Linked DNA regions of Homo sapiens: all the other regions are linked to region 1. The links are contacts of gene promoters, found by promoter capture Hi-C in blood cells and fetal thymus (Javierre and others, 2016). All regions are on one chromosome and are shown on one strand. The core of a region is centred on a gene start or on the middle of the fragment in contact, and the rest is flanking DNA. Distances in the headings are between cores, read along the strand shown. Region 1 holds the start of ZNF284 (zinc finger protein 284). Region 2 overlaps ZNF235 (zinc finger protein 235). Region 3 overlaps ZNF404 (zinc finger protein 404). Region 4 overlaps ZNF283 (zinc finger protein 283).

Region 1 (3,049 bases), core at 142-2,641:
GGGAGTGGGTCTTTCCCATGCTGTTCTCGTGATAGCAAGGACAGATAGAGGAGTGACTTTGAATAGAATGGGAGGCAGGTTTGCCCTAAGCGATTTCCAGCTTGAGATTTCCTTAGTGATTTTGGGGGCCCAAGATATTTTCCTTTCACAATACTAAGCAGTTTAATTTCTCTTAAATGTGGCATTTCCACGTCTAAAGAATATTAATATGAAAACTTTAAAAGTGGGAAGATAGCTTTTCCAGGAGGGCAATTGGCCCTCCATATTGGCCCTTGACAGGGCAGGAGCATCGCCATCTTGGACAAACACTGCCATTTTAAAGTTCGCGTTGATCAAAAACTGCCTAAATCCAAAGGGCATCAGCCTAATGGCTAAGGTCAGCATGACCATAAACCACAAATGACATCTCCAATCAGAAACATTCCAACCATAAGATAAACCCCTCCCTGACCAGAGACATGCCAGCACCGAGATAACCTCCCTTCCATTGGAGAGATGTCAGTCCCAAGATAACTTCCCCTCCAACCAGAGATATTCCAACCCCACAACAGACTTCTCCCCAATACAGAAACATTCTAAGCCTGTGGTAAGCTCTCTCTCCCTAAAGCCAATACATACTCTTAGTCCGTAAGAGAGAGCGCTCCTGACTGCAATCGGCCAGAAGGCCCTCTCGGTTTATTCTCCAAAACGAACCTGTCTTTGACTGTTGAGCCGCTTTTCGTGTTTTTTTTTTTTTTCTCTTTAACTCTTACAGCCCTCTTAAACACTTAAACTGTGGTTGTTTTTCTTGCCAAACCAGTGGTACAACAGTGTCTGGTTGTACCAGGGGCTGGTGCCCCACTCAATGCCTCTCCCAAACCATTTTTCCTGGCCCATTATTTAAGCTCTTAGATTTAGCCTCATACTATTAGCGTCTAGTATATTAGCCTTTCAGCCATCTCCTGACCGCTCCACAGTCACTCCCCGCTAACTCCTTGAAGATTGTATCTCCTTGCTTTGTTCTCTTTCAGTAACACTCCTGTCATCATGGGAGGCGTGTAGACTTCAGGAATTCCTGTCTATTCAATATTTTCTCTCGAGGACGCAGGGAGAGGGAAGGACCACTCTCAGGGCCACAGTCCATATTCCAAACCAGGCGCTTGGGTCTATGGGATTCATTCCTCGTGGGCATTGCAGGAAGTGTAGTCAAAGAGCACCGCGGAGTCCCACGCTTCCCGCCGGAAGGTGATACTATAGAACGTCTCCTTTGAGATTCAAGGAAGTGTAGCGCAGGAGATCTGTTGAATGACGAGCAAGTAGGCTCAGGACGGCGTATCCGGGGAATTCTGGGAAATGTAGTTCACACGCTGCGCGGGGTAGGGGCACTTCCGCTCCCGGGGGGCGAGGTTGCTGCAGTGCATTCGGTGGTAGTTTGGTGTCAGTCCTGTGTCTTGTCGGTCCTTCTAAACGTGTCCCCTTACGATGCTGGCTCGCAACCACCTGGAAGTTGACTAAGGGGAGAAGGAGTCTCGTTGGAAAACGGAGGTTTGGAGGGACAACGGCCTCTCTTTTCGTTCTTGTCAGCGGAGCCTTCTTGGTCTTGGGGCTGTCCTCGCGTCCCCGGGCATGAGGCTGGGGGTTGGGACTTGGTCGGGACGCGTCTCGCCTGGTTTGAGGGTTTTTGGGGCTCTCAGCTCGCTCAGTCCGCCTCCCTCCATCCCACCTGTGAGGCTACTTTCTCACAATTTAGGGTTGGGATGTTATTAATCTCCCTGTACCTCCCACTGCTGTTCTTTAAAATGGGGACTTTAGGACCATCCTAATGAAATCGTTTTGGGAACTGGAAGAGGTAACACAAATGAAAGCCTTAAAGCAGCCCCTCCCTTAGTGACTGGTGGTCTCTTCTTAGTGTTTATTTCCCACGAAGCCTGTCAGGTCCCCGGGTGGGGTCAGAGCTCCATCTGCAGGGATCCCCGCCCTTGTCTCTGATTCCTGCAGGACGCTGGGTGATCCCGGACGCTTCTGACCTCTTTTTAGGAAGGCGAGGGTTGTTTCCATTTCCACGAAGGGAGAGGAACATTTAACTTTTATGCCGGACGGCAATGCGGTCAGGGTGTTTCACAGCTTTCTCCTTCCCCAGCCTGATTCTCAAAAAGAGCTGCAGGGAGGGACTTCTTGGCTACTGAGGGCAAAGTTCCACGAGAGTGGTCCTTGGCTTTTTTTCTTTTACAGAGATGCTCACCCCGACCAAGAGTGTAGGATGTGTCCTCAGGCATGGGTGTTGATAATAATTAAGCCTCAATTGGTAACTTTATCCCAAGAGCTTTATACAAGTAGTCACATTTTCGCCACACCGTGGCTCTGTGGAGAGGTACTACTTTTTTCAGTTTTAAAGATGAGTGAGATACAAAGGAGCAGGAGTTATCTGAGAATAGTCACCTAAGCAGTAAGAGGTGGAGCTGCGGTTGAAACCTGGGCGTTACAGGTCAGAGCCTTAGTTGATAATCTTTTGGATACATTCTCATTGAGGCAGAGGAACTAGCTGGAATCTAGTGGGGAAAGCAAGCTAGGACTTGATTGAAGGGAGCCTTGAGAGCAAGGCTTATGGGCTTGGACTGTTCTGGGAGTTTATCAACTATTTCATTCATTAGAACTATTTCATTTATTACAAATATTTCACTTGTTATGCAGCGGTATGATTGTGGAGCGTTCAGAAATTGGAGAAATACGAGTAGTACAAGTTTATAATTACCCATGAATCCAGCATGTAAAGATAGTAACTGTTAAACTTCGAGTGCATTTTTTTTTTTTTTTTGAGACAGAGTCTCACTGTGTTGCCCAGGCTGGAGTGCAGTGGCACGATCTCGGCTCACTGCTAACTCCGCCTCCCAGGTTCACGCCATTCTCCTGCCTCAGCCTCCTGTGTGAGTAGCTGGGACCACAGGCGCCCGCCACCACGCCCGGCTAATTTTTTTGTAGTTTTAGTAGAGATGAGGTTTCACCGTGTTAGCCAGGATGGTCTTGATCTCCTGACCTCATGATCCACCAGCCTCGGCCTCCCAAAGTGCTG
Region 2 (3,083 bases), core at 338-2,837, 220 kb after region 1:
TCACATTAGATAAAAACAGTATTGTTCAGTCTATAAACTGACACTAAAAATCATACTGTACACAACTGATGATACACTGTACAAAGAACTAAGGCTGAAGGATGGGAGCCATTCATGTCTTTTTTCCAAATTTGTGTTAGTATGGATGGCAGTATTATATACTTTTCAGTACTTACTGAAACTAACGTTATTAAGGCTACTTGCAGGATTCCTTTTGAATATAAATTAATATAAATTTAGAGTAGAAAACAGACTAGAATTTTCAAGTATTTGTCCTAATTATAGGTATTTTCTTCACTTTCTTCAGTAATTGCTGGGCCCTATTATGAGCCAAGCACAATTCTACATGGTAGAGATAGAGTGGTGAAAAACACCTCCTTACATAGAGGTTACATTTTAGTTGACATCCATTTTTTCTGTCAATCATACTTTTGTTAAAGGAAGGCCTCTCTCCTGTGCAGACTCCGACAAGACTTTTCTGCTGTGTTACATCTTGAGAACCGGGACACCTGGTACTCTGATATAAACACTGATCATATTTACAGAACAAAGTTTTCTCGCATCTGTGAAATATGACGTTTGTAAAGAATTCATGTCCTAACCAAGTCTAAAACACAGCATTTGAGAGACTTCTTTCCTGTCAAGATTCTTTGAAGCTTCTAGTTTTAAAGGAACTTTTCACAATCATCAGCATGGACTTCCCAACGGAGACAAAGATGTGAGCTCTAACTGAAGGCTGAACCACACCTCTCATTTCTACAGATTCCCTCCAGTGTGGACTCTCTGATGGTAGATGAGATGTGACCTCTGACTGAAGCCCTTACAACAGACATCACATATGTAAGGCCTCTCTCCAGTGTGGACTCTCTGGTGTGTGTGAAAATGTGAGGCCTGACTGAAGCCCTTCCCACACTGCTGACACGTATAGGGTTTCTCTCCTGTGTGGACCCTCTGATGGGCACTGAGACCAGCACTCCAACTGAATTCTTTCCCACATTCCTCACATTTAAATGGTTTCTCTCCAGTGTGAATTATCTGATGGACTTGAAGATTTGACCTCTGGCTGAAGGCCTTACCACAAGTGTCACATTTATATGGTTTCTCTCCGGTGTGGACTCTCTGATGGGCTTGAAGGTGTGAGGCCTGACTGAATCGCTTCTGACATGCATCACACTTGAATGGTTTTTCCCCAGTGTGGACGCTCTGATGGGCTTGAAGATTTGAAGCCTGACTGAAACCCTTACCACACTCTTCACATTTGTAGGGTTTCTCTCCGGTGTGGACTCTCTGATGATTGTGAAGATTCAAGCTCCAATTGAAGCGCTTCCCACACACTTCACATTTGTATGGTTTTTCTCCAGTGTGGACTCTCTGATGTGCTTGAAAGTATGAACTCTGACTGAAGCCTTTCCCACACACGTTGCATCGAAATGGTTTCTCTCCTGTATGGACCCTCTGATGGCTCTGGAAACTTGAGGCTGAACTAAAACCCTTACCACACTCTTCACATTTATATGGTTTTTCTCCTGTGTGGACTCGTTGATGACTATGAAGATTAAAGCTCAAACTAAAGCACTTACCACACTCATCACATTTGTATGGTTTTTCTTCAGTGTGGACTCTCTGATGGGTATGAAGATTTGAGCTACAACTAAAGCGTTTACCACAATCCCCACATTTATATGGTTTCTCTCCAGTGTGAATTCTTTCATGGGCCTGAAGATGTGATCTCTGAGTGAAGCCCTTCCCACACACCTCACATTTATAAGGTTTCTCTCCAGTGTGAACTCTGCAATGAATGTTAAGATCTGTGCTACGACTGAAGCCCTTCCCACAACTGTCACATCTATAGGGCTTCTCTCCTGTGTGAATAGGCAAATGAGCATAAAGATGTGAGCTCTGATTAAAGCTCTTACCACACTCGTGGCATGTATAGGGTTTCTCCCCTGTGTGGACTCTCTGATGAGTTTGCAGATTTGAGCTCTGACTGAAACCTTTACCACATTCATGACACCAATAGCGTTTTTTCCCAGTACGAACACTTTGTTGAACAGGAATACCTGAGCTATAACTGGTGTCCTTCTCATGTGTACTACACGCTGGAGACTTCTTTCCCAAGTGTACCTGTTTATGAAGTTCAAGACTGGAGCTATCATTGAAGGCTTCTTCACATTCATTACCCTGGTAGGTTTTCTGTCCTGTGTGAATACTACGCTGGGTAAGAGGTGATACCTTTAGGGTATCTTTACCACAATCACTATTGCTATGAACTTTATCTCTTTTGTGCACTATATTATCATCATGGTGGTGTGAAATACAACTGAAAATGTCAACATATGGAGCAAATATACATAGTTTGTTTTTCATCTGAGTCTGCTTACAACTTCTCTGATAATTCTGTGTCTCATTCAGATATATTTTACTCCAAGAATTCGGAACTTTCCCAGTTGGAAATTCTTGATTTTCAATGATACTGGAATGATCCCCTATGTGATTCACTAGACAGTTGTCATCCACAGAAGCTTGAATAGATTCTCCTGCTCCCACTTGACAGGGGGAATCATGGTGCTTGGGGAACTGAGAGCTCTTTCCTTCAATATTTATCATGGAGTCTTGACTTCTGGCTAATTTGCTCGCAATGTGTCTCTTGATTTGCCAGCATGAAAGCTCTCCCAGTGAAAAGCACCTTAATCCTGCTTTGTGAAGAGTTGCCATCTCATTTTGATTCCTGTCTCCTGAAAGGATAGAGAGAATAAGGAATAAAGGACCAAGAGACTGACATTAGCAAAGTAGAGAATTAAGATCTAAGCTCTCATTTTCCCCATGGAAACGTCAAAAAAACAACTAGACTGGCTGAAATAAATTTATAGGAACTCTGAAAAGCAGCTGCAACCAAGAGAACACCAAATGTTTTAAAAAGCCATATTTAAGATAGAAAATTTGAGATCAGCCCAGGGTATGGTTAAGGTGTATCTTGGGTCTTTTCTGAGTATGAGTCTTGCTGCCTGTGTGTATTCTCCAGTATACACAACTCCAAAGTGAATGCTTTGTCCAGATGTTTCCAAATTTTACACATAGTTCCT
Region 3 (2,857 bases), core at 178-2,677, 200 kb before region 1:
TGAAAAGATGCATGCAATGAAGAAATAGGCAATCTTAGTAAAGAAATAGGAACTATAAAAGTACTAAAGGAAAATTCTAGAACTGAAAAATGTAATATCTGAAATTAAACAATTTGATAGATAGGCTTAGCAGCAGAACTGAAATGACAGAGAAAAAGAATAAGTGAATTTGAAAACAGAGTAACAGAAGTTGTCCAAGCTGAAGAACAGAAAAAAAATACTGAAGATAAATAACAAAGACAGTGACCTGTGGGACAGTACCAAAAGATTTAACGTATGAGTAGAGTAAATGCAGAAAAAATATTTGAAGATATAATGGCCAAGAATTTCTGGAATTTGGTGAAAGGCACATGTGTGCAAATTTCAGAGGCTCAGAGTACCCCAAGCAGAATTAACACAAAGAAAACCATACCTAGGCACCTCATACTCAAACAGCTGAAAACCAAAAGTAATAAGAAAATCTGGAAAGCACCCAGAGAAAAAGGACACATTACATAAGAGAAAAAACAATTCAAATGACTTCTTCTTGTAAACTATGGAGACTTGAAGACCAGAAGTCGGTGATTTATATATACATATATGAAACAATATATATCTCTTTATGAGTATATATATGTGTGTGTATTCTTTGTGTGTGTGCATATACACACACATATATTCATATATCTCCAAAAAACTGCCAACCCAGAATTCTATAGCCAGAAGAAATCCTTAAAAAATAAAGGCATTTCAGTAAAAGAAACTATGAAAATTCATCACCAGCAGACGTTCACTCCAAGAAATGCTAAGTTAAGTTCCTCAAACTGTAGGGAAATGATACCAGAGAAAAATTCAGATCTCTGGAAAGAAATAAACAGCATGGGAAATAGTAAATATATGGGTAAATATAAAAGATGAGGATTTTCATCTTAATTTCTTTAAGCAACTGGGTGTAGCACTGTGTGCCTATAGTCCCAGCTACTCCAGAGGTTGAGGCAGGAGGATTGCCTGAGCTCAGGAGTTCAAGGCTGTAGTGTGCTATATAACATCTGTGAATAGCCACTGAATTCCAGCCTGGGCAACATAGCAATACCCCATCTCTAAAAATAGAATACAGAAGACTGTTCAAATTTCCAACATGACTTTCCATGGATTACTTATTTAATTGCAAAGAAAAAATTCACCCATAACAATGGAAGGAGCTGGTGGTCAATACATGAATCAAGGGATAAAACATAGTTTCACTTGTAGGCCACCTGATACTTTACAATATTAAGTACATGATACTATCTATGAAGTAGTCTTTTGAAAATGTTTAATCTGAAACCCAATCAAGCCTCTAATCATAACCTCCAGGTCACAGTAAATATAGAGGACAAAGAAACAAGTTAATCACACCTCCAGAAACAATAAGACAAACACAGCATGTGCAACACTATTTAGGTCAAATCTAAAGTCTTCAAAAAGTCTATGTCACAAAATGATGAAGGGTAGGCTCTTGACTAAAAGAGACTTAATAAGCCATAATCATATAAAATATATGAGATTAGTTTGGTTCTTGGCTTGTGAAAAAGACAGTGCTAAAAGACATTATTTTAAAAATTGGAGAAATTTGCAAATGGAGTGAATATTTTAAGACATTATAGGGTTACTGTTAATTTTTTTGTGACAATGGTGTAGTAGACATCTAGAAGATTATCTTTGATCCTAGCAGTTGTATGTTGCCTTTTTTTTAGAGGTGAATGATACCTAAAACATTCACTCAAAAAACAGGAAAAGTGATATATGTAATATATACATATATTCATGTGTAATAAGTATGATATATATATATATGCATCTGTGTATATACATAGACATAAGACATGCATGGTATATATGTATTTGTGTGTATATATGTGTTAGTATACACATAAAAAAGAGAGACATCAGATGTACTGAAACTAGGTGAAGGGCAAACAAGCCTTCACTGCACCACTGTAAACAGCTACCTTTTCTGTAAGGATGTAAATCTTAACATTTTCATAAACTTAGGGAAAACTTTTCCAAGTTAATATCTGTCTTTTGGCTACCTAACTGTTCATTTCTAATTTATTTTAATTGTAGAGGATGCAAAATATGTGTTATCTGTATTATAGGATTTGTGAAAAAATTTCTTTAAACCACTCTCTAATTTTCAACAGCTATCCTTTCATTATTCAATAAATACACATTATTTATTCCAGCATTAATCTTCAGGGGTATGAATTCTGAATTTAAAAATTTCTCATTTAATATATTCTACAGGATTTTGTCCAGAATAAATTATATGAAGTGATGATAGAGCATTTTCAAAATATCACACTCATAGGGTCTTCCTTCTATAAGATTTATTTTTAGTAATTCTAACAATTATCATAAAAATAATGTATTTAGTAAGCAAATACGATGTGCCAGATGCCTTTCCAAGTATTTATATTCTATATTAACTAGTTTAATCTTCACTATAGCATCATAATAGTGACAACAGTAAAAATGTGCCATGGCTAAAGGCTTTCCCTCTCATTACATTAAGAGTCTCTCACCATGGTGAAATCTTTGATGTTGACTAAGTTGATAGCAATGACTAAAGGCCTTACCACATTCTTTGCATTTCTGTGGTTTCACACCAGTATGAATTGTCTCATGTTGAGTAAGTCGATCACTGCGATTAAAGGCCTTATCACATTCTTTACATTCATAGGGTTTTTCACCAGTATGAATTCTCTTATGTTGAGAAAGACCTGAGATAGAACGAAAGGCCTTCTTACATTCTTTACATACATAGGGTTTCAAACCAGTATGAATTGTCTGATGATAAATTAGTTGAGAATTAAGTCTAAAGGTTTTTCCACATTCC
Region 4 (3,031 bases), core at 53-2,552, 220 kb before region 1:
TTAAAGCTTTATTTTCAATTTTAAAATATAATTAACAGTATTAATGTGTTATAAGATGATGTGTGTATCACATTGATTTTTGACAGGGTAGTTTGAGCTTAGTTGAGTGAAAATATGTTTAACAATGGTCAAGAAATAAGTAAACTTAATTGAAAAATAACTCAAAATATTTGTTCTTCCTCTTTTATGAATATCTTCTTAGGAACTTTTTATGCAACCAGAAATTATTTATTAGTAACTCTCAAGATCATTTTGTCTAAGTGAATTGGAGATCTTATAATTTAAAGTGATCCTTAAATAGCAATACAATTACTGTTGATTTTTAAAATTGATAGACATTTAAAATTTTTAAATAAGGTAAAATCTATAGAGTCACATAATTGCAGCATTATATGAAGTTATAAAAATCAATCCTTTTATAAAAATTCTGGCTAATAAATCTAAGTAAATGTAAAATTTAATTGAACTTTATATTTTTACAATTGTGAACATTTATGAAAGCAATGTTTGCTTTATCTCAGGGGTTGGAAAACTCTGGCTCTGGAGGCCAAATCCACCTGTTTTTGCAAATAAAGTTGTATTGGAACATAGTCTTGCCCATTTGTTTATATGTTTACATATTGCCCATGGCTGCCTTGATAAAATGGCAGAGTTGCGACCATTGAGTTGTTAGACAAAAGAGTTGTTAGACAAAACAAAATCAGCCAAAGCTCATTATGATAAGAATTTGATTCCCATTAAGATACATTGGATGACCACAACTGGGCACATAAGGGCTTGATTGATGGAAGCTGACATTTGGTTTGAGGGAACATCAGCGTGGGAAAATGAGGGACTTGTTGAAGCGACCTCTGTGGAATCCTCCAGAAAACTATAAAATCAGAACATTCAGATCACAAGAGCTGCAAAATCAAGGCTGAGTTTGTTATTTAACAAGGGAGTGCCTTAATGCCAAGGAGTGAGTTCAGTAAGTCTCCTAATTTGTCTTTTATTTCTACTGTAGTTTTTTTTTTTTTTTCCCTAGTGAAGGAAATAAAATGTGTGGTTTTCTTGTTTTCTTTCAGATTTGGAGTCAAAAACGTATGAGACCAAAAAAATATTTTCAGAAAATGATATTTTTGAAATAAATTTTTCCCAGTGGGAGATGAAGGACAAAAGTAAAACCCTTGGCCTTGAGGCATCCATCTTCAGAAATAATTGGAAGTGCAAAAGCATATTCGAGGGACTAAAAGGACATCAAGAGGGATACTTCAGTCAAATGATAATCAGCTATGAAAAAATACCTTCTTACAGAAAAAGTAAATCTCTTACTCCACATCAAAGAATTCATAATACAGAGAAATCCTATGTTTGTAAGGAATGTGGGAAGGCTTGCAGTCATGGCTCAAAACTTGTTCAACATGAGAGAACTCATACAGCTGAAAAACACTTTGAATGTAAAGAATGTGGGAAGAATTATTTAAGTGCCTATCAACTCAATGTGCATCAGAGATTTCATACTGGTGAGAAACCCTATGAGTGTAAGGAATGTGGGAAGACCTTTAGCTGGGGATCAAGCCTTGTTAAACATGAGAGAATTCACACTGGTGAGAAACCCTATGAATGTAAAGAATGTGGGAAGGCCTTTAGTCGTGGCTATCACCTTACCCAACATCAGAAAATTCATACTGGTGTGAAATCTTATAAATGTAAGGAATGTGGGAAGGCCTTTTTTTGGGGCTCAAGCCTTGCTAAACATGAGATAATTCATACAGGTGAGAAACCTTATAAATGTAAAGAATGTGGGAAGGCCTTCAGTCGTGGCTATCAGCTTACTCAGCATCAGAAAATCCATACTGGTAAGAAACCTTATGAATGTAAAATATGTGGAAAGGCTTTTTGTTGGGGCTATCAACTTACTCGACATCAGATATTTCATACTGGTGAGAAACCCTATGAATGCAAGGAATGTGGGAAGGCTTTTAATTGCGGATCAAGTCTTATTCAACATGAAAGAATTCATACTGGTGAGAAACCTTATGAATGTAAAGAATGTGGAAAGGCCTTTAGTCGTGGCTATCACCTTTCTCAACATCAGAAAATCCATACTGGTGAGAAACCTTTTGAATGTAAGGAATGTGGGAAGGCCTTTAGTTGGGGTTCAAGCCTTGTTAAACATGAGAGAGTTCATACTGGTGAGAAATCCCATGAATGTAAAGAATGCGGAAAGACCTTTTGTAGTGGGTATCAACTTACTCGACATCAGGTATTTCACACTGGTGAGAAACCCTATGAATGTAAGGAATGTGGGAAGGCTTTTAATTGTGGATCAAGCCTTGTTCAACATGAAAGAATCCATACAGGGGAGAAACCCTATGAATGTAAAGAATGTGGGAAGGCTTTTAGTCGTGGCTATCACCTTACTCAACATCAGAAAATTCATACCGGTGAGAAACCTTTCAAATGTAAGGAATGTGGGAAGGCCTTCAGTTGGGGTTCAAGCCTAGTTAAGCATGAGAGAGTCCATACTAATGAGAAGTCTTATGAATGTAAAGACTGTGGGAAGGCCTTTGGTAGTGGCTATCAACTTAGTGTTCATCAGAGATTTCATACTGGTGAGAAGCTTTATCAACGTAAGGAATTCGGGAAGACCTTTACTTGTGGCTCAAAACTTGTTCATGAGAGAACTCATAGTAATGATAAACCCTACAAATATAACGAATGTGGGGAAGCCTTTCTGTGGACAACTTACTCAAATGAGAAAATTGATACTGATGAAACCTTATGATTGAAAGTTGTAAAAGAATATTTTGTGTGTGTGTATAGACAACTTATCATAATAAGAACTCTTACTCTTGAGAAACCTTGTGAATGTAAGGGTTGTGCAAAAGCCATTCATTTCTGTTTATGGGCAATTATCTTGCTATCCAGCAATTCATACTAGTGAGAAATATTTTGAATATAATTAATATGAAAAGGCCTTTAGACTTCTGTACAGTCTTATTGGATATCAATTTATACTGATGTAAAATCATTTAAATGTAAGGAATGT

Evidence for each region. The method cuts DNA at HindIII sites, captures the fragments that hold promoters and counts their contacts. A CHiCAGO score of 5 or more calls a contact.
Region 2: a contact is called between a fragment that was not itself captured here and the fragment with the promoter of ZNF284 in region 1, in 2 of 17 cell types (total CD4 T cells and fetal thymus). The highest score is 7.9, in total CD4 T cells.
Region 3: a contact is called between a fragment that was not itself captured here and the fragment with the promoter of ZNF284 in region 1, in 2 of 17 cell types (non-activated CD4 T cells and total CD4 T cells). The highest score is 5.6, in non-activated CD4 T cells.
Region 4: a fragment that was not itself captured here is called in contact with the fragment with the promoter of ZNF284 in region 1 in 4 of 17 cell types (neutrophils, activated CD4 T cells, M2 macrophages and 1 more); the score reaches 6.2 in neutrophils.

Annotation. Positions count from the first base shown.
Region 1 is chr19:44,070,768-44,073,816 of GRCh38, forward strand. It overlaps ZNF284 (zinc finger protein 284), which reads left to right and starts at 1,392. Exons shown (of 5, transcript NM_001037813.4): 1 at 1,392-1,524. The HindIII fragment of the contact is 12,821 bases long and covers 1-3,049 here.
Region 2 is chr19:44,286,462-44,289,544 of GRCh38, forward strand. ZNF235 (zinc finger protein 235) reads right to left here. Exons shown (of 5, transcript NM_004234.4): 5 at 1-2,735. The coding sequence ends at 757. Among named protein-coding and RNA genes, the nearest start is that of ZNF235, 17 kb to the right of the region's middle. The HindIII fragment of the contact is 1,866 bases long and covers 655-2,520 here.
Region 3 is chr19:43,870,032-43,872,888 of GRCh38, forward strand. It overlaps ZNF404 (zinc finger protein 404), which reads right to left. Exons shown (of 3, transcript NM_001033719.3): 3 at 2,334-2,857. The coding sequence ends at 2,524. Among named protein-coding and RNA genes, the nearest start is that of ZNF404, 13 kb to the right of the region's middle. The HindIII fragment of the contact is 3,147 bases long and covers 1-2,857 here.
Region 4 is chr19:43,845,875-43,848,905 of GRCh38, forward strand. It overlaps ZNF283 (zinc finger protein 283), which reads left to right. Exons shown (of 7, transcript NM_181845.2): 7 at 1,065-3,031. The coding sequence ends at 2,767. Among named protein-coding and RNA genes, the nearest start is that of ZNF283, 20 kb to the left of the region's middle. The HindIII fragment of the contact is 2,596 bases long and covers 5-2,600 here.